Linked DNA regions of Homo sapiens: all the other regions are linked to region 4. Evidence: promoter capture Hi-C in 16 types of primary human blood cells and fetal thymus (Javierre and others, 2016). All regions are on one chromosome and are shown on one strand. The core of a region is centred on a gene start or on the middle of the fragment in contact, and the rest is flanking DNA. Distances in the headings are between cores, read along the strand shown. Region 1 overlaps TGOLN2 (trans-golgi network protein 2). Region 2 overlaps KCMF1 (potassium channel modulatory factor 1). Region 3 overlaps KCMF1 (potassium channel modulatory factor 1). Region 4 holds the start of SUCLG1 (succinate-CoA ligase GDP/ADP-forming subunit alpha). Region 5 overlaps TCF7L1 (transcription factor 7 like 1). Region 6 overlaps KCMF1 (potassium channel modulatory factor 1). Region 7 overlaps KCMF1 (potassium channel modulatory factor 1).

Region 1 (2,700 bases), core at 13-2,512, 870 kb before region 4:
GCGGGTAAGACCCTCCATCCCGCATCCCACTCTTGCCCCCAGATCCCCCATTCTCACCTGGGCAGGTCACCTCTAGGCTCGCTTCTTCCCTACCCGACCCACCTCTCCGCTCGCCATCGTCTCCCGCCCCACCCCCCAATCCCCATTCCCCCGCTGCTCCCGATCTCTTCCAGTTCTGAGGAGTTCCTTCTTCCCGCCTGCCCTTCTCCGGTGCTAACTCGTTTTTCTATTTCAGGAGCCGTGCCGCTCTTGGCCACCGAAAGCGTCAAGCAAGAAGAAGCTGGAGTACGGCCTTCTGCAGGAAACGTCTCCACCCACCCCAGCTTGAGCCAACGGCCTGGAGGCTCTACCAAGTCGCATCCGGAGCCGCAGACTCCAAAAGACAGCCCTAGCAAGTCGAGTGCGGAGGCGCAGACCCCAGAAGACACCCCCAACAAGTCGGGTGCGGAGGCAAAGACCCAAAAAGACAGCTCCAACAAGTCGGGTGCGGAGGCAAAGACCCAAAAAGGCAGCACTAGCAAGTCGGGTTCGGAGGCGCAGACCACAAAAGACAGCACTAGTAAGTCGCATCCGGAGCTGCAGACTCCAAAAGACAGCACTGGCAAATCGGGTGCGGAGGCGCAGACCCCAGAAGACAGCCCCAACAGGTCGGGTGCGGAGGCAAAGACCCAAAAAGACAGCCCTAGCAAGTCAGGTTCGGAGGCGCAGACCACAAAAGATGTCCCTAATAAGTCGGGTGCGGACGGCCAGACCCCAAAAGACGGCTCCAGCAAGTCGGGTGCGGAGGATCAGACCCCAAAAGACGTCCCTAACAAGTCGGGTGCGGAGAAGCAGACTCCAAAAGACGGCTCTAACAAGTCCGGTGCAGAGGAGCAGGGCCCAATAGACGGGCCCAGCAAGTCGGGTGCGGAGGAGCAGACCTCAAAAGACAGCCCTAACAAGGTGGTTCCAGAGCAGCCTTCCCGGAAAGACCATTCCAAGCCCATCTCCAACCCTTCTGATAACAAGGAGCTCCCCAAGGCTGACACAAACCAGCTTGCTGACAAAGGGAAGCTTTCTCCTCATGCTTTCAAAACCGAATCTGGGGAGGAAACTGACCTCATTTCTCCCCCGCAGGAGGAAGTTAAGTCTTCAGAGCCTACTGAGGATGTGGAGCCCAAAGAGGCTGAAGATGATGATACAGGACCCGAGGAGGGCTCACCGCCCAAAGAAGAGAAAGAAAAGATGTCCGGTTCTGCCTCCAGTGAGAACCGTGAAGGGACACTTTCGGATTCCACGGGTAGCGAGAAGGATGACCTTTATCCGAACGGTTCTGGAAATGGCAGCGCGGAGAGCAGCCACTTCTTTGCATATCTGGTGACTGCAGCCATTCTTGTGGCTGTCCTCTATATCGCTCATCACAACAAGCGGAAGGTAAGTCGACAGCGGCCTTCCGGAGGGGAGTGGGGTTTCCAGCACCCTGGAAGCTTGGGTGTGGGTGGGTATCCCGTCACTAGATGCCCGTGAGCACTGGGGACTTTAAAACAAACTTCAGTTTTTTCCTCAGGCCCTATTAGGCCTCTTTACTCTTGTTTTGTTAATCGTGTTTTCATCCTGTCACCTGTTTACTCTGAGTGTCCTCTGCTACTGCATTAGGAGCCAAGTTAGGACATTATTAGGATCTGACCTGACTTGGAATCTCCTCCCATAACTTTGCACTTAGGTCCTTCACAGCCTCAGAGGACCTGAGTACTTGACAGTTAAAGCACGTACCTTCCATCCTATTTCCCTTCTTGAGACGATATGTCATTTCTAGCTTCCTTTCCCAACATTCTCTCTTCCATCAGCAGTGGCACAAAGAATGGTTTCAATTACTGCGTCTTCGATACCAGGACCAAAGAGCCCAGGGACTTCTGCAATTAATAATAATTAGAAGAAAGCCCAGAAATTGCACAGACACGTACACCTGTTACTTTTTCATCAGGGTTTGGTCTGTTTATTAGCAACCACTCTAATGACAAAATGATTGCATTTCATATTGAGCCCCCAACATTTAGAAGCTAGTTTCTGTAACCTGCTTAAAATTGGAGAGTCCAATTCTGGCCATAAGGCCTATGGCTATAAAGAATAAAGGGGAAGACCTTTAGTAAAAATGTGCATTCCTGGCCCGGTGCAGTGGCTCCTGCCTCTAATCCCAGCACTTTGGGAGGCCGAGGCAGGAGGATCGCTTGAGCCCAGGAGTCCGAGACCAGCCTGGCCAACATAGCAAGACCTCGTCTCTACATATAATAAAAAAATTAGCCAGATGTGGTGGTGGACGTGTGTGGTCCCAGCTACTCAGGAGGCTGAAGTGGGAGGATGGCTTGACTGTGGGAGGTCGAGGCTTCAGTGAGCCATGATCACGCCATTGCACTCCAGCCCGGGTGACAGAGTGAGACCTTGCCTCTAAGAAAAAAAAAAAGTGTATTTCTTATTCTATGTCCAAGTGTCCATTATGCAGGGTAACCTTAGTCATGAAATGAGATTGATAAAGAATGTAGTTGATGTAGCATCGTGGGGTGAAAAAGTACATTTGTAGATAGGAAATTCTGATTATGACTTTTTTTAAAGGAATGTCCTATATCCTAGATATCTCTAGGAAGGAGTTGATAGATCTTTGACTGTGTACCTTTGAATAAATCAAACAGACTTCCTCCCACACGCTAGAGCTCAGACAGCCTT
Region 2 (2,700 bases), core at 72-2,571, 540 kb before region 4:
ACACTCTGCAAGAGTTCTAGCTTAGGCACCACCCACAGGTCAGAATATACTGCAGTCCTCCCAACCCAAAGTTTTGCTTTCTCTTTTTTTTTATTATTATTTTTTTTTGAGATGGAGTCTTGCTCTGTCGCCCAGGCTGGAGTGCAGTGGCGCGATCTCGGCTCACTGCAAACTCCACCTCCTGGGTTCACGCCATTCTCCTGCCTCAGCCTCCAGAGTAGCTGGGACTACAAGGTGCCCGCCACCATGCCTGCCTAATTTTTTGTACTTTTAGTAGAGGCAGGTTTTCACCATGTTAGCCAGGATAGTCTCAATCTCCTGACATCGTGATCTGCCCGCCTTGGCCTCCCAAAGTGCTGGGATTACAGGTGTGAGCCACCACGCCCCGCCCCAAAGTTTTGCTTTCTGAGGTTTCAGTTATCCGTGGTCAACAGTGGTCTGAAAATATTAAATGGAAAATTCCAGAGACAAACAATTCATAAGTTTTAAACTACCTACTGTTTTGAATAGTGTGATGACATCATGCACTGTCCCACTCGGAGGTGAATCATCCCTTTGCTTGGCGTATCTGTGCTGTATACCTGCCCACTAGTCACTTAGCAGCTGGTTATCAGATGAATAACAGGATACATAGGGTTCAGTACTATCCACAGGTTCAGGCATCCACTGGGTGGTCTTGGAAAAATGTCCCCCCTCAGATAAAGGGTGACTACTGTAAGGCAGAACCAGGGCCTTTACCCTATGCTAACCCTTTTTAGCTTCCTCACACAATTACATGCTTGCTACATCTTCTTTCATTTGCCCAGTTATCTTGGGCCTGTAAGGTCCTGTACTTGACCCTATTTTATATATGTTTTTATTAGTGACTTAGAAAATGACAGTAGGCCAGGTGTGGTAGCTCACGCCTGTAATCCTAGGCAGGAGGATTCCTAGAGCCCAGGAGTTTGAGATCCACCTGGGTAACATCGGGAGACCCGGTTTCTATTTAAAACAAACAAACAAAAAATTAAAAATAAAAAAAATAAAATGACAGCAAACATTTATAAGCTTGTGCATAAAACAAACAGTTAAAATACTAGATGACAGAACAGAGATTGAAGCGAGGCAAACGGGTATGTAAAACAAGACTTATTTTTTTTTTTGAGACGGAGTCTCACTCTGTCGCCCAGGCTGGAGTGCACTGGCACGATCTTGGCTCACTGCAAGCTATGCCTCCAGGGTTTGCACCATTCTCCTGCCTCAGCCTCCCGAGTAGCTAGGACTACAGGTGCCCGCCACCACGCCTGGCTAATTTTTTTTTTCTTTTTTTTAGTAGAGACGGGGTTTCACCGTGTTAGCCAGAATGGTCTCAATCTCCTGACCTCGTTATCTGCCCGCCTTGGCCTCCCAAAGTGCTGGGATTACAGGCGTGAGCCACCGCGCCCGGCCAACAAGATGAATTTTAAAAGGACTTCGTACAAAGTTTTGCCTTTGGATAAAACAATTCATGTGATAAGAAATCCTGGATTAATTAACTAAGCAAAACCTTAGCGTCAATATTAGCCCAAGATGAGATGCAGTTGCTAAAAATGCCAGCAAATAAACAAGCAAGCTTAGATTGCATTAATAACCATACAAGATTCATAACTGTGATATATCTACAACATTTTACTCTGCCAGACCATATGTGAAGAACTACATTCAGTTCTGTGTGTCTTGTTTTAAAATGGGAAACAAGTACAGTAGTATATATAGTTATATAGTTAGTATATATAGTATATAGACAGAATGGCAAAGTATCTAGAAACTACACCAAGAGAAATTACTAAAGGACAAAATGGGCTGTTCAGCAAAAGAGCTGGGAACAGGCAACACTGAGGGGATGCCACAGCTCCATACAGAGCTATCACAAAGAGGCAGTACACTCAGTTCTCTGTAGCTACTAAGGTCAAAACCAGGAGACACTAAATGCAACCTGGTATCCTGGATCCCACACAGAAAAGGGATATTAGTGAAAAAAAAAAAACACAGTTAAGACCTCAATAAAGTCAGGAGCTTTATTAGTAATAATGTACTAGTGTTGGTTTCTTAGTTTTGCCAAATGTACCAATGTAATGCAAACTATTAACATTAGGAAAAACCAGGTAAGGAATATATGGGAAGTCTCTATACTACCTTTGCAACTTTTCTGTAAATCAAAAATTATCCCAAAATAAAAGTTTATTTTTAAAAAGTAAGCTAACAAGGAGGCAGGTGGTTCAAAGGATGATTCTCTGATGGTACAGTGAATGCTCTGTCAATGCATGCGTTATGGTCAAAGATTAAAAGACAAACTGAAATGCTTTTGAAAGGGTTTCTGCATATTTCATAGGACACTGGTACCATCTAAACTGGAGGTTAAATGAATTTAGTAGGGCCATTAATATTTATACTGGAGACTGAAAACCAGAATGTAAAGAACAAAGCTAACTGAAGTAGATCCATCACTACTAGGAAAGTAACAATTTTGTATTTGCAATAATGTTATTAATATAATCAATTCTTCTACCTGTTTTGAGGAGGATGCCAAAGCCTACCATGGTTAGGTCAATGAAGGACTGCATATATGATGGTGGTCCCACAAGTTTATTTTTACTGATACCTTTTTTATGTTTAGGTATGTTTAGAACCACAAATAGCATTGTGTTATAACTGCCTACAGTATTGAGTACAGCAACATAT
Region 3 (2,964 bases), core at 168-2,667, 580 kb before region 4:
ACCTTATTTCCTGAAGAAATGGGGTGGTAGGCCAGAAGCTTGTAACCAGGTCAGGCTCAAGGAGTAGTAGAACAACTTTCCATGGGCCTCTTGGCAAGAGATGGGAGAAAGTAGGAATAAAATGGTGTGTACACAGTCACAGTTCGGGGAGCGGGTGACAGGTTGGGAAGGTGGTTTCTATAGTTAACAGAATTGGTGAAACAGAGGGAAGGAGAGGGGAAGGCTAGAAAGAATGAGGAACGTTTTAAAGAGGAAAGGCCCTTACTCTTCCGAAATTCAAATGGACAGATAATGTTCTAACAATGGTAGCCAAGCCTTGAAGTATGAACAACTTCAATCTTAAAGAACAGGGCCAAGAAGAAAGGTCTGAAGCAAGGGGCATGACCAAAAGGAGCCCCAGGAAGTGCACAGTTCAAGTTGTAGACTTGTGTCTTTATCCATAAATAAGAAGGTTAAAGATAGGATATGTGATTCATTGCCAGTACATGTGCCGAAATTCTTTCACTTAGGCAAAATCTAGGCAATTGGTCAACCTTATTGTCTGCTGCCAGCACAGTGGGAGTAGGTGGTAGCGCTGGAGATGAGGGGAGATGGAAAAGGTGAGACTTGGAAGGACAATCCTGGGGTACGGAGGGAAAACAAACTGCTCTGATTCCTGAAGCCCAAACAAACATAACTTTCCATCTTCTAACAACTAGAAAGCAGAAGTCTCCTGAGAGTTCAACTCTGATTTGATATCAGTCTCTCTTATGCCTAATCAGCTGTCCTGATTATGTGACTCAGGACTCTGAGAAATATCCTCAGGAAAACCTAAATATGTTCATGAGAAATAACATTTAAGCATGACAGTGTGCAGAAGAACTAGACAGGTCACAATGGAATGTGATGAGGCAAAAGAGAAAAAGAAGTAGATAGACCTGCCTATGCCTTTCTTAGAAGATGCCAGGAAGGTGGTCAGATTCTTTCCTCTGTCAGAAAAGTAGCTGTATGTGTCAAAGTTTACAGATTATCCATCCACTCTCTCTTTACTAGGGATTTAACTTTTACTATCTGTACCATTCCTGTACTCTGACATTACCTGGTTATGTCTGATATACATATTTTACTTTTCACGTGCTTCTGGTCTTACCTAGCTAAACTGTAAACTCTTTGAGAGATGCAGGACAATGTGATTTGTCTTTGGTTTTAAACTCCGGCCAGACTTGCTTTTTTTAAAAAAAAAAAAAAAAAAAAAAGACCAGCAATGTTTGGAGAAACAGAAAACAAGTTCCAGTTATTTAAAAATAAAACAAGCTACCTTAGAGACTCATCATTCTGAAAAAGTTAACAAGTGCTGGGTTATAGTTTTATTACAATATTATAAGGCTGTATAAGATTTTTATTTAAAGAGAAAATAACCACCAAAAGGAAAAGGCATCTTTCTTCTAAGATACTTTCCTTTAGATTGGCCTTCGGGTAAAATCTATAAACAACTTGAGCTGTCCAATGATAGCTGCAAAGGCTTCAGTACTTGAGGGGACATAAAAATGTTGGTAGATGAGAAAAGTCTCCACAAGGATATAGATTCCTAGAAGGAAAACAGAATGGGAAGCAGAGACATCAAACGTACAAAGAATGTCCTAATAAGATAGATAATTTAACAAGTAGAAAAGCACCTTCGAGACAAGGATGTAAAATAAAATCAAGATCCTTCCTTATCGTGTATTGACTTTGGTTCTATACTCAAAATCTTTTTTATTTCATTGCAGTAATTCTGCTAAGATGGCAGGATGAAGGTATTCAGAACTGCTTCATTCAAAGAGAAATAATATAAAACCAACCAATCAACCAACCAAACTTCCATAACTACTAGGGATAAAGAATTACTGAGGATAAGAAATTACTGTGGTGGGAGGATCACCCAGGTTGACAGCTGGCATAGAAAAATCAAGAGGCTAGGCCAGGCACGGTGGCTCATGCCTGTAATCCCAGCACTTTGGAAGGCTGAGGTGGGTGGATCACAAGGTCAGGAGTTCGAGACCAGCCTGACCAACATGGTGAAACCCCATCTCTACTAAAAAATACAAAAATGACCTGGGCATGGTGGCACACGCCTGTAATCCCAGCTACTCAGGAGGCTGAGGCAGGAGAATCACTTGAACCCGGGAAGCGGAGGTTGCAGTGAGCCAAGATCGCACCACTGCACTCCAGCCTGAGCGACAGAGACTCCATCTCAAAAAAAAAAAAAAGAAAAGAAAAAAGAAAATCAAGAGGCTAGATTTAGAACCAAGTGGAAGATGTTGCCACACTTGGGTCACATGAAGTTAACTCAAATGAGGAGTTGGAAAGGAAAACTAAGCTCAGATGCTGATGCGATCACAGAGGCCTGGTCACCTTTTAGGTTTTACATTTTATATTTAGCAAGCTAACTCATGCTTTAAGACAAAAATGCTTGTTCTCAAGACTGTGTTTTCTGAGAGGAAATGAAGGGAACAAGACGAAGAAAGAAAAAGGAGAGCAAAGCGGGGCAGGAGAAATGGAAAAGAGGTGGTGGGGAGTGGGAGGAGAGACAAAGCAAGCCACTGTGCCACTCATGGGCACAAATACTGCTTAGTTTTGAGTGTGTCTTTATTTCTACATCATGGTGCCTAATATCTCTTACAGGACAGGAAAACTCGACACAAAGGGTAACTTTAGGGTACTGACCCTAAAATTATGACAGCTTGTCAACATTAATATTTATCATACTTCCACTGCCACACGATAGAGTAATATCTATTATTCATATGGAAACATTCCATGTAACACACAAGCTTAAAATTACAACAACTTGTCAATTAAGATTTACTTAACTGGCTTAAGTCAGTATTTCTTTAATTTGGCTAAGAATATAAATCATCTGGGCCAGGTGCAGTGGCTCACGCCTACAATCGCAGCACTTTGGGAGGCCAAGGCAGATGGATTGCCTGAGGTTAGGAGTTTGAG
Region 4 (2,853 bases), core at 236-2,735:
GGGGTGCAGTTATTACAAGAGGTTGAAATATCCTAAGTCCATCAAACATTGCCTGTGGATCCAAAAAATAATCTATATACTACTATTTCTCCTATATATATCAATTCAATTCAACGATGAGTTATTTGTGTAAGGCATTGTTCTAGGTGCTGGGGATACTCCAGGATACAAAACAAACAAAAATCCCCGTCTTCATGGAAATACAAATTTTCATTAAAAGTGTACTGAAATTATATTTTTTGTCATCATGCATTTTATCAATTAAATGAAACTAAACATATAACTTATCAAGCGACAGCTCAGGAATAATTTTGCTATTTAAAATAGCAAGGGATTTTCTATTTATTTGCCATAAAAATGTCCATTTTGTTATAATGGATATATCTGGAAACCACTGATACTATTTAACTCTGAGGAATTTAGTTATCACAAGAACATGATCCATGAGGGAGGAGTTTATTTGCAGTGAAGTCCAACCTGTTAATGACAATATTTGGATCATAAAGGAAGTATTGGGCAATCTCCTGGGGTAATCCCACTCATCCATCCCACAGCTCAGTGCCAATTATAATGACTACCTAAGTAAATTAGGATTGCAATTTTATTGACAATTCTGATGAGGAATCTCAGGAGCACGATTTTCGGCAGAGACGCAGATTACTTCATCTCTTGTTTACCTTTTGACTCTGGGACTCTCTGAGGTTCCTTCTAAAGCTGTTACAGAAGAGGGAACTGTTTGTCCAATCAGGGAGCAAAGTCACATTTGACCTCGAATTTCAGCCCTTAGGATCCTCAGGGAATAAACACTCATGCACTTAGTGCTAGTCAAAGACTGCATGATTATTTAACTAAAAAAATTCACATTCCAAGAAGTTAACTGTCAGTAAGATAGGTTTTGGTCTTTCTCATCACATCTTTCCCTTCACAGGCCACCAGTGCCAGTTCGAATTCCCGTCCCCAGCGGCAACCCTTCCGGGTCCAGGCACAGGTACGCGGTGAGAAATATTATTCTCTCTAATAGCAAACGAGGAAAACGAAGGGGGAAGGAGATGGGCCTGGGATACAAAGTTCTGGCACTGCTCTTCGCACCTCACCTCGCTGTTTCTTCCCTCCTAGTCTTCAAGTCCCTTGTCTCCCCGGTCTCACTGCCGCTCTTCCCTCGCTCCCTTCCCGCCGCCTCACTCAAAAGCTACGAACCAGTCGCGGCCGTCAGACTACATTGCCCACAATGCCACGCGCTGGCCAGTCTCGCGTGGGGTTTTCCCTCAGCTGCTGTTATAATTAATGTTAATCAAACCCACATTTCTAGGAAGGAGCCGAGTTATTATCTGCCTCTCCGATAGGATGCCTCTTTGTCTTCACCTGCCATTCCCGCTGTTTCGTGAAGAATCCTCTGTAAAGGGAAATTTGTTCAGGCGACTGCTGTGGCCACCCTCTGCCTCCTCCGGCCTCTGCCCCTGGGAGGTCCCCGGGGGCCTGGGAGTGTCATTGGCGTATGACCGCAACCCTTGCCGCTGCCGCTGACATCGCTACCATGGTCTCCGGCAGCAGCGGCCTCGCCGCCGCCCGTCTCCTGTCGCGCAGCTTCCTCCGTGAGTCCAGCCAGTACTGTCTTCCTGGCGCCCGCGGGTTATTGGCCCCGCCGGACCCAACCTCCTGGCCCAGGCCGCGGCTGGGCCCTCAGGGCTGGACCTCGGCGGGGGCCTGGGAGCCGCTTGGGATTCCGGCTTCGAGTCGGGGACCCCTACGGTGGAAGGAGCTTTGCTGGATACGTGGGGCGGGGGGCATGACTTAGGCCGCTGGCAGATGGAGATATTGGGTGGCTGAGCCAGGATTCGGGTCCGGGAGCCCTGCAAATTTGGGAGCTTGCTCTCGGCCCCGCGGTGACAAATGACAGGATGGGGGTGGCGTCTAGACTGGCCTTATTTGGAGTTGGGGATGAAGAGGTCCAAGGTGAACTTGGTGGGGAAGGTAAGGGTCTGGGTTGAGAGGTAGAGGAAGAGTGTCTCAGTAGGAAGTTGGGGGATGAGGCTGTCCCTAGTACGGAAAGGTCCTGCACTTCGAATTCCCCCTCTGCAGGATTGTATGTCAGGGAAAGATGGTTTCTGCACACGGAGTGGGGTCGGCATAGCCGCATAGACTACTAGAAGCTTATGGTTGGCTGGGACCTAAACCAGCTTATTTGCAGTGTCTCCACCAGGCGATTTGTGGACACATCCGTTCCCGAAAACTTAGTACCCAAGGTTGCTAGTCTTTGAGACACGCTGACTATGGAAAATTCTTGCCATATTCAAAGTCTCTGTGCTTGTCAGGTAGGTTATAGTAGAAAGAAACTTTGGAATCAGCCACATCAGGGTTTGAAGTCTGGCTAGTCCCTTTTCAGTCTGTGTAATAACCCTGGACACTTAATCTGTTTTTCAGTGTTTCCAATCACATGAAAATATTAACACATTTTAAGGGGCCTGAAGCACCATCACTTGTAAGGTGGACCATTATTTTGTTTACCACTAACAATGAAGAACGATTGCTTATTAAAACTGTGACACACCAGTGGTTGTCACATGTATCCTGGTTTTTTAAAAAGTGAAAAAAAATGTGCATTTTAGCAATGATGATGTACAGGATGATCTGGGTTCACTGCAGAATAAGTGGAGCAATTTATATAAAGCATCTCGTATGTAACAAACACTCAAAGTTAGTTTTCTTTTTCCGCTTTGCTCTTAATTCTGCTTGTACTGAATATTTTATGAGACTTAATTCCTTTCTTGAGAAGATTACATTCTGAAAGTGTACATTGATGAGTGTGCACTCAATAGCTAACACTTAGTTGCCAATCACTTGAGGACAAAGGTC
Region 5 (2,717 bases), core at 1-2,500, 830 kb before region 4:
GGAACTAGTGGAAAGGCGATTCTTGTTACAAAGTGGGAAGAAACATGGCTGAGTTATTTTGTAGTGTTTTGTGAAAGGTAGAACTTGTGAGTGATGAATTTAGATATTCAGCACAAGTTATTTCTAAGCAAAGTGCTGAAGGTGTGGCTTGGTTTCTCCTTACTGCTTGTAGTAAAATGTGAGAAGTAAATTATTGTTAAGCAAAAAGGAACCAGAACTTGAAAATTTAGAAAATTCTCAGCCTAGCCTCATTGCAAAAAAATGAGAAGGTGTGTTCCTAAGAGAACACCAATGGTGTGGCTGGACGATCAGATAATGAGACTGGGGCTGTGAAGCATGGATTCAACCAACCACCTCAGCAGAAATACTGCCCTTTTGGATTAAAATGGACAAAGACAGGACAAAGGGAAGGAAGGCTGTCAGACTTCTACAGAATGGGCTACAGTGATGTGGCTGCAAACATTTGTTATCTTTCAAGAAGAGGGAAGAATGACCCCAAGAGGGGATTCACAAGGTGTGGCTGCCGCCCAGGGCCTCAGGGGCACAGCTCCCAGCTCCCATCCTGGTGGGCTGGAAGGACAGAGAATGAATGGTGCCAAAGAGGATTATTCTTGAGCATTAAATTGAATAGAACTCTGCTAGCAGACTGCCTTTAGACTTAGACTGTAACTCTTCCCTGCCAGTCTCCAGCCTGCCAGCTTACCCTCTTAAATCTTTCTCCCTCTACACATTCACACTCACTCACTCACTCGCTATATATACATACATCACCTTGGTTCTGTTTCCCTGGAGAACCCTAACACAGAACTGTCCTATATCTTTTTTATTTTTACTTTTCATACCAAGCTAAGCTGACTAGGAGAACTGTTCTATATCTTGATTGTGGTGAACTCATGTATGACTGCAAAAGTTTGTCAAAACTCACAGAACTATATACTCATGTGAATTTCACTATATGTAAATTATATCTTAAAAATGGGGAGGTTGGGCATGATGGCTCATGCCTGTAATCCTAGCACTTTTGGAGACTGAGGCAGGCGGATCACTTGAGGCCAGGAGTGCAAGGCCAGCCTGAGCAACATAGCGAGACCCTAACTCTAATTTTTTTTAAATGGGGGGAAAAGCGCACACGTATACAAATATATGCACAGGATGCTAACTTTAGCTTAAAAACTGGGGCCGGGTGAGGTGGCTCACGCCTGTAATTCCAGCACTTTGGGAGGCCAAGGCGGGCAGATCACCTGAGGTCAGGAGTTCAAGACCAGCCTGGCTATCATGGTGAAACCCCGTCTCTACTAAAAAAATACAAAAATTAGCCATGTGTGGTGGCAGGCGCCTGTAATCCCAGCTACTTGGGAGGCTGAGGCAGGGAGAATTGCTTGAACCCGGAGTGTGAAAGTTGCAGTGAGCTGAGATCGCACCACTGCACTCCAGCCTGGGCGACATAGTGAGACTCTGTCTCGGAGAAAAAAAAAAAAAAACTGGGCTAGGCGTGGTGGCTCGTGCCTGTAATCCCAGCACTTTGGGAGGCTGAGGTGCGCGGATCCCGTGAGGCCAGGAGTGCCAGACCAGCCTAGCCAACATGATGAAACCCCGTCTCTACTAAAAATACAAAAAAATTAGCTGGGCGTGGTGGTGAATACCTGTAATCCCAGGTACTCGGGAGGCTGAGGCAGGAGAATCTCTTGAACCCAGGAGGTGGAGGTTGCAGTGAGCTGAGTTTGTGCCACTGCACTCCAGCCTGGGCAACAGTGAGACTGTCTCAAAACAAACAAACAACTGGAAACCATCTATGTCTATCTATTTTTAAAATGTTTAAATAAAAGGCAACCAGGAAGAGAGAGGTGGCAAAGTTTCAAAGGTGGTAGATATTTCTGCCTTTGCACTAACCTCATCTAGATTTTTCTCTACACCTTCCTCTATCCCTCAACTCCTTACTCTCTAGGTCCCTTTTCTGATTCTGGATGCTCAGCCTAACAGCTAAAATTTGCATTAAAAAACCCCTGAATATCTGACCATTTTCCAAAAAGCTGGATTAAGTCACTCTAAAGTTTTGGAGAACTGCAACCATTTCCAAGTTATCTGGATTATTTGTCTCCTGGTCTCTGGGTCTCTGGCCCCATTTGCCTGTAACTCAGCAGAATTTATTAGGCATCTACCTGGACAGGAAGCATTTTGGTCATCAGAGAGCAAGTTATAAGTATACACACACACACACACACACACACACACACACTCCAGACTGAAATACTATTTAACAAAATGTTTGTGGGTTGTGGGATTATAGATCTTTTTCTGTGCTTTCTGGCATTTTCCCAAGAGTTCTACACAGTGCATGCATTACTTTTACGGTTTCAAAAAAAGATTTTTTAAAATTAAAAAACAGTTCTGAATGAAAAAAGGGGTTGGATCTTGGGTAAATGTGGGTAGAGAAGGGGTATTAACTTTTTACCAGACCATTCATTCTTCCATTCATTCAACAAATGCTCCCGAGCATTACAACAGGCGCTCAGATGCGATTCCTGTCTTCGTGTTGCTTATATTCTAGAGGGGCATATATGTGTTTTGCGTGGCTGGACACAGTGCTCCTGGGGGACACTGGAGGGAAGACAGGCACCTGGCATGTGGGGCCATGGTGAGGGGTCTGGATAATAATCTGCAAGTGATGAAATTACACTGATCGGATCTTACAAATAGTTGCTTATACAATGTTACTG
Region 6 (2,787 bases), core at 199-2,698, 600 kb before region 4:
AGGGCTAAGATTGAAACTCACATCTGTGCTTGTAACCACAGCACTTTATCTTCTCCCTGTTCTGGGTGGATATTTACTTGTCAGGAAGGTTTCCATGGGAACTCCTGCACCCAGAGAGCAATTAGACCTTTCCAATTCTAAGCTTTAATTCCAGAGTTCCATTCTCCAGGTTTTCCCTAACTTCACCTCCAACCCAGCTTGATTTTGAGTCCCATCCACTGCCCTTGACACAAAAATGTGCATCTCCTTATCCCCACCGTGAATTCCAAGTTCTAACATCTGATCAAGCAAGACCACCATTTTCCCTTTTTCTTTCACAGCGCAGGCAATGTCAGTAATCCAGGAAATTCCGCAAATTTTACCTCCCCAGAATTGACCTACCAATTATTACCCATGACTTGCCTCCTAGTCCAAGCATGATCTGGGTACTTTTGAGGTAAGAGAGAGAATCCCAAGAGAGAGAACCCTAATTTCTAATACAGAAGATTCACATCCATTCTCATGATTCATTGTAATTTTTCCAACCACTTCTTTTTACAAACTTAATTCCATTCTTTCTCCCAGCCAACATCTGTTATGGCTGGCTACAGAATTTATAAGCATCTAAAAGCTATCTTACAAACACTTCATCAAATGCTGTCTACTTGAAATGTAACAATGTCTAAAATGTGTGCCTTACAACAGTATAAGATGTGAAAAGTGCTATTTGTTGCAACCTTTACATTTTAGGATTCGTGGAGTAATCAACCAACCCACCCCAATCCTTGGTGGCCAGACTCTACCAGAGCTGAAGGCAGTTTGAAAGACAGCTGTGTGAAAAGAATGTGTTGCCCAGGACCACTGGACAAGCGCCTGCGAGTGGACATGGTGGGTTTTGGTTTTCTTAGGTGGACTTGTTCGGGGCTTTATAACCATAGAATGGTGAACACTTGGAAAATACTATGAAAGGATTAAAAGTTTTATCGAAATATGCCAAAAGTGTTCTTAAAAAGATCCGGCCAGGCATGGTGGCTCATGCCTGTAATCCCAGCACTTTGGGAGGCCAAGGTGGGCAAATCGCTTGAGCCCAGGAATTTGAGACCAGGCTGGGCAACATGGTGAAACCCCATCTCTACAAAAAACACAAAAATTAGCTGGGTATGGTGGCATGTGCCTGTAGCTCCCAGCTACTCGGGAGGCAGAGGTGGGAGGATAGCTTGAGTTCAGGAGATCTAGGCTGCAGTGAGCCGAGATTGCACCACTGCACTCCAGCCTGGGAGACAGAGTGAGACCCTGTCTTAAAAAAAAAAAAAAAATACAATCCACCATCCTCCTCAGAACACAGTGACTTGGGGGACAACCCTAGAGCCCTAGGCTGGAGTGAAAGGCATTTGTTCAGGTAGATACTAAAAGGTAATTTTCACTACTTGCTTTTAAACCTGCCATTGGCTTGGCCGGGCACGGTCGTTCATTCCTGTAATCCCAGCACTTAGGGAGGCTGAGGTGGGCGGATCACCTGAGGTGAGGAGTATGAGACCAGCCTGGCCAACATAGTGAAACCCCGTCTCTCCTAAAAAACAAAAAATTTGCTGGATGTGGTGGCGCGGGCCTGTAGTCCCAGCTACTCAGGAAGCTGAGGCAGAAGAATCGCTTGAATCCGGGAGGTGGAGGTTGCAGTGAGCCGAGATTGCGCCACTGCACTCCAGCATGGGCGACAGAGTGAGACTCCGTCTCAAAAACAAAACAAACAAACACCAAACAAACACACAAAACAAAAAAAACCCTGCCATTGGCTAGAGGCAGTTGAGTGTTCAAAATGGGGAAAAACAACCACCAAAAGCCAACAGGAACTCTGAAGAGGGAAAAAAAAAATGGATAAGGAACAAGTCTTGTCCCTTCCGGTCCTGAGTGGGTGGGGCTTATGTTCATGCTGAAGTTCAGGGGGCTCCTTCTCAAGTCCTTCTTTCTAGTCTTGCCCTGTGAAGCTGTAAGTAGAATCAGTATTCCAAAGTCCTTTTCTGGACTGAGGAGAGAGGCCACATGTTCACCCCTCAGGCTCAGACACCAGCAACAGTGGTAACCAGGGTGGTCCTGAAAATTCCGTAGGCAAATGGAACTGAAACTGCAGATGTCACTGGAAGCATTAATAAAACACACACACACACACACACACACACACACACACACACACACACAGAAACAGGAGAGGACGCAGACAGGGACAATAGGAGTAATGGTATTTCACAGGGGATTTAAAACTATAGAAATGAGGCCAGGTGTGGTGGCTCACGCTTGTAATCCCAGCATTTTGGGAGGCCGAGGCAGGTGGATCACCTGAGGTTAGGAGTTTGAGACCAGCCTGACCAACATGGTGAAACCCCGTCTCTACTAAAAATACAAATACAAAATACAAAATACTAAAAATACAAAAAAGTAGCTGGGCGTGGTGGCACACATCTGTAATCCCAGCTACTTGGGAGGCTGAGGCAGGAGAATCATTTGAACCCAGAAGGCGGAGATTGCAGTGAGCCGAGATAGTGCCACTGCACTCCAGCCTGGGCAACAAGAGCAAAACTCCATCTCAAAAAACAAAACAAAACAAAAACTATAGAAATGCCGAAACACCAGTGCCACAGATGACCAAGTCTGTGTTGAACATTACTGACATCTTAAGATGACACAACACTGAAGTCACACTCAGCTATCTCAGTGAATGCAATGGAAACTGAGGTGCACAACACAAAGTTTATTCAAATCAGAAAACAGATAAGCTTCATGACAGGTGGTGATGTTATAAAAGGTAATCTA
Region 7 (2,874 bases), core at 373-2,872, 560 kb before region 4:
TGTGTGCCTGTAATCTCAGCTACTCGGGTGGCTGAGGGAAGAGAATCACTTGAACCCAGGAGGCAGAGGTTGCAGTAAGCTGAGGTTGCGCCACTGCACTCCAGCCTGGGTGACAGAGCGGGACTCCTATCTCAAAAAACCAAAAAAATGTCATTTGTGATTCCATCGAGATGTGCCAAATTCAAAGAGAAGGAAAGTAGAACAGTGGTTGCCAGAAGCTTGAGGAAAGGGAGAACGGGGAGTTACGGTTTAGTGGGTAGAGAGTTTTCAAGTTTGGGATAATGGAAGAATTCTGGAGATGGACAGTGGTGATGGTTCCAAGAATGTGAATATACTTAATGCTACTGAACTGTACACCTAAAAGGGGTTAAAATAAATTTTATGCTATGTATATTTTACTGCAATAAAAAAATAAGCCATTTGCAACAGCATTTTAAAAAAGTGCCTATGAATAAATCTAACCAAAGATAGGCAGCCCTTTATGAAGCAAATTAGTAAAAATGTATTCAAAGACACTAAAGGACTTTAAAAAATATAAATACCAACTTCATGGACTGGAAGGTTCATAATAAAATGTCAACAGATTTGTGGATTCAATACAATTAATAACCAAAATTTAAAAAGAATTTTTTTGTGGGGCATGGTAAGCTGACTCAAATGTTGATGCAAGTTACAAAAAGGGCCAAGGAGAGTCAAGATGCTCCCAAGAAAAATGAGATAGAGGGACTTGTTTTATATATCAAGAGCTAAACTAATAAATAATAAGTAACACCATAACAAATAATAAACCTATAATAACTACAGTAAGATGGAATGGCACCAGGGTAGAGACAAACTGGCCCATGGAATAGAACGGAAAGACCAGAAACAGATGTTGAAATCTGTTTTACAACAGCAAGGTCACTAAAGAGCACTGAGAAAAAAAGGGAATGGACAATAAATGGTGCTGAACAGGTGATTATCTGCATGTGGGGAAAACAGAATTGGATCTCTCCCCATATCCTATACACACAAAAAATCAATTCCACATGGTTTAAAGACGGATTCAAAAGAACAATGAAAAATATCTCTAGAAGACAATATAGAATATTTTTATGAGTCTAAAGTAGAAAACAATTTCTTAAATCTTTCTCTTTCTCACACACACACGCGCACACACACACACACACACACACTCTCTCTCTCTCTCTCTCTCTCTCTCTCTCACTCTCCAAATCAAAAAGTAAGAGATAAGTCCAACTACGTTAAGACTTTTTCTTCATCTTTTGTTTTTGTTTTATTCTTTTGAGATAGAGTCTCACTCTGTCGCCGGGGCTGGAGTGCAATGGTGAGATCTTGGCTCACTGCAACCTCCGCCTCCTGGGTTCAAGCAATTCTCCTGCCTCAGCCTCCCAAGGAGTTGGGATCATAGGCGCCTGGCACCATGCCCAGCTAATTTTTGTATTTTTAGTAGAGACGGGGTTTCACCACGTTGGCCAGGCTGGTCTCGAACTCCGGGTGATCTGCCCGCCTGGGCCTCCCAAAGTGCTGGAATTACAACAGGCGTGAGCCACCACGCTCGGCCTTTTTCTTCGTCTTTTCACAGCCTACATTGATTGAAAATATAAGGTTCAGAAACTGGCGATATGTACAACATACATGACAGACAAAAGTTTGGTATTCAGAATGCATTATGAACTCTTACATATCAGTAAGTAAATGATGAATGCTTAGTAGAAAAATGGAGAAACCTGTCAAAGGGCACTCAAAGAACAACAAACATAAATGGCCAGTAAACATATGAAAAGATGCTCAATCTCATTAGTCATCAAAGAAGTGCATGATTAACATCCGTGAGCTAGCATTTTACATTTACCAAACCGGTAAGAAACTACAAGTTTCATGATATCAAGTGTTAGTGAAGATAAAGGGCAGCAGAAGTGCTTATACCCTGCTGGTAGGAGTGTAAATCAGCACAACCACTTTGAAAAATTTGTTCATATTTTTAGTCAAGTTAAACACATATACCTCCTATGATACCGTAATTTCACTCTTAAATAAATTCCCGGGGAGGGAATCTTTTGTCTGTGTGCACCTAGAGAATGTGGAAGAATGTTGACGGCAGTTTTTGTAACTGAATTTTAAAAAGGCTACTCAGGGGCTGGGCGCGGTGGCTCACGCCTGTAATCCCAGCACTTTGGGAGACCGAGGCGGGCGGATCACAAGGTCAGTAGATCGACACCATCCTGGCTAACACGGTGAAACCCCGTCTCTACTAAAAATACAAAAAAAAATTAGCCAGGCGTGGTGGCGGGCGCCTGTAGTCCCAGCTACTCAGGAAGCTGAGGCAGGAGAATGGCGTGAACCCAGGAGGCGGAGCTTGCAGTGAGCTGAGATCGCGCCACTGCACTCCAGCCTGGGCGAGAAAGTGCGAGACTCCGTCTCAAAAAAAAAAAAAAAAAGGCTATTCAGATTCAAAGGCTCAACAGTTCAATATGCACAGAATGAATTGGAAAAAGAATGAATCACAGCAACGGTAAGAACATCTGCCTCAGATGAGTGAAAGGAAATTTCAAAGAATACATACAGTATTGGCCGGGCGCGGTGGCTCACGCCTGTAATCCCAGCACTTTGGGAGGCCGAGGCGGGCGGCTCATGAGGTCAGGAGATCGAGACCATCCTGGCTAACACAGTGAAACCCCGTCTCTACTAAAAATACAAAAAATTAGCCAGGCGTGATGGCGGCCGCCTGTAGTTCCAGCTTCTGGGGAGACTGAGGCAGGAGAATGGCGTGAACCCAGGAGGCGGAGCTTGCAGTGAGCTGAGATCAGCCACCGCACTCTAGCCTGGGCAACAGAGCGAGACTCCGTCTCAAAAAAAAAAAAAAAAAAAAGA

What was found. The method cuts DNA at HindIII sites, captures the fragments that hold promoters and counts their contacts. A CHiCAGO score of 5 or more calls a contact.
Region 1: a fragment that was not itself captured here is called in contact with the fragment with the promoter of SUCLG1 in region 4 in 6 of 17 cell types (total B cells, naive CD4 T cells, naive B cells and 3 more); the score reaches 9.0 in total B cells.
Region 2: a contact is called between a fragment that was not itself captured here and the fragment with the promoter of SUCLG1 in region 4, in 3 of 17 cell types (total B cells, naive CD8 T cells and total CD4 T cells). The highest score is 7.1, in total B cells.
Region 3: a contact is called between a fragment that was not itself captured here and the fragment with the promoter of SUCLG1 in region 4, in 5 of 17 cell types (activated CD4 T cells, total CD8 T cells, total CD4 T cells and 2 more). The highest score is 7.7, in activated CD4 T cells.
Region 5: a fragment that was not itself captured here is called in contact with the fragment with the promoter of SUCLG1 in region 4 in 6 of 17 cell types (total B cells, naive CD8 T cells, activated CD4 T cells and 3 more); the score reaches 7.7 in total B cells.
Region 6: a contact is called between a fragment that was not itself captured here and the fragment with the promoter of SUCLG1 in region 4, in 4 of 17 cell types (total CD4 T cells, total B cells, monocytes and 1 more). The highest score is 6.7, in total CD4 T cells.
Region 7: a fragment that was not itself captured here is called in contact with the fragment with the promoter of SUCLG1 in region 4 in 5 of 17 cell types (total B cells, naive CD8 T cells, total CD8 T cells and 2 more); the score reaches 11.7 in total B cells.

Annotation. Positions count from the first base shown.
Region 1 is chr2:85,325,221-85,327,920 of GRCh38, reverse strand. It overlaps TGOLN2 (trans-golgi network protein 2), which reads left to right. Exons shown (of 4, transcript NM_006464.4): 1 at 1-4; 2 at 236-1,413. Among named protein-coding and RNA genes, the nearest start is that of TGOLN2, 1.4 kb to the left of the region's middle. RefSeq lists enhancers at 740-919, 1,160-1,329. The HindIII fragment of the contact is 413 bases long and covers 1,056-1,468 here.
Region 2 is chr2:85,001,920-85,004,619 of GRCh38, reverse strand. All of the region lies in intron 1 of KCMF1 (potassium channel modulatory factor 1), which reads right to left. Among named protein-coding and RNA genes, the nearest start is that of KCMF1, 32 kb to the right of the region's middle. The HindIII fragment of the contact is 544 bases long and covers 1,050-1,593 here.
Region 3 is chr2:85,040,033-85,042,996 of GRCh38, reverse strand. The region is part of intron 3 of KCMF1 (potassium channel modulatory factor 1); the gene reads right to left. Among named protein-coding and RNA genes, the nearest start is that of LINC01964, 26 kb to the left of the region's middle. The HindIII fragment of the contact is 2,754 bases long and covers 41-2,794 here.
Region 4 is chr2:84,457,912-84,460,764 of GRCh38, reverse strand. It overlaps SUCLG1 (succinate-CoA ligase GDP/ADP-forming subunit alpha), which reads left to right and starts at 1,485. Exons shown (of 9, transcript NM_003849.4): 1 at 1,485-1,592. The coding sequence starts at 1,496. It also overlaps a transcript of DNAH6 not described here. RefSeq lists a silencer at 939-1,128 and an enhancer at 1,309-1,448. The HindIII fragment of the contact is 6,917 bases long and covers 1-2,152 here.
Region 5 is chr2:85,288,741-85,291,457 of GRCh38, reverse strand. All of the region lies in intron 4 of TCF7L1 (transcription factor 7 like 1), which reads right to left. Among named protein-coding and RNA genes, the nearest start is that of TGOLN2, 38 kb to the left of the region's middle. RefSeq lists an enhancer at 1,008-1,508. The HindIII fragment of the contact is 5,806 bases long and covers 1-2,717 here.
Region 6 is chr2:85,059,396-85,062,182 of GRCh38, reverse strand. It overlaps KCMF1 (potassium channel modulatory factor 1), which reads right to left. Exons shown (of 7, transcript NM_020122.5): 7 at 2,711-2,787. Among named protein-coding and RNA genes, the nearest start is that of LINC01964, 6.6 kb to the left of the region's middle. The HindIII fragment of the contact is 2,608 bases long and covers 145-2,752 here.
Region 7 is chr2:85,022,885-85,025,758 of GRCh38, reverse strand. The region is part of intron 1 of KCMF1 (potassium channel modulatory factor 1); the gene reads right to left. Among named protein-coding and RNA genes, the nearest start is that of LINC01964, 43 kb to the left of the region's middle. RefSeq lists an enhancer at 1,801-2,485. The HindIII fragment of the contact is 2,803 bases long and covers 221-2,874 here.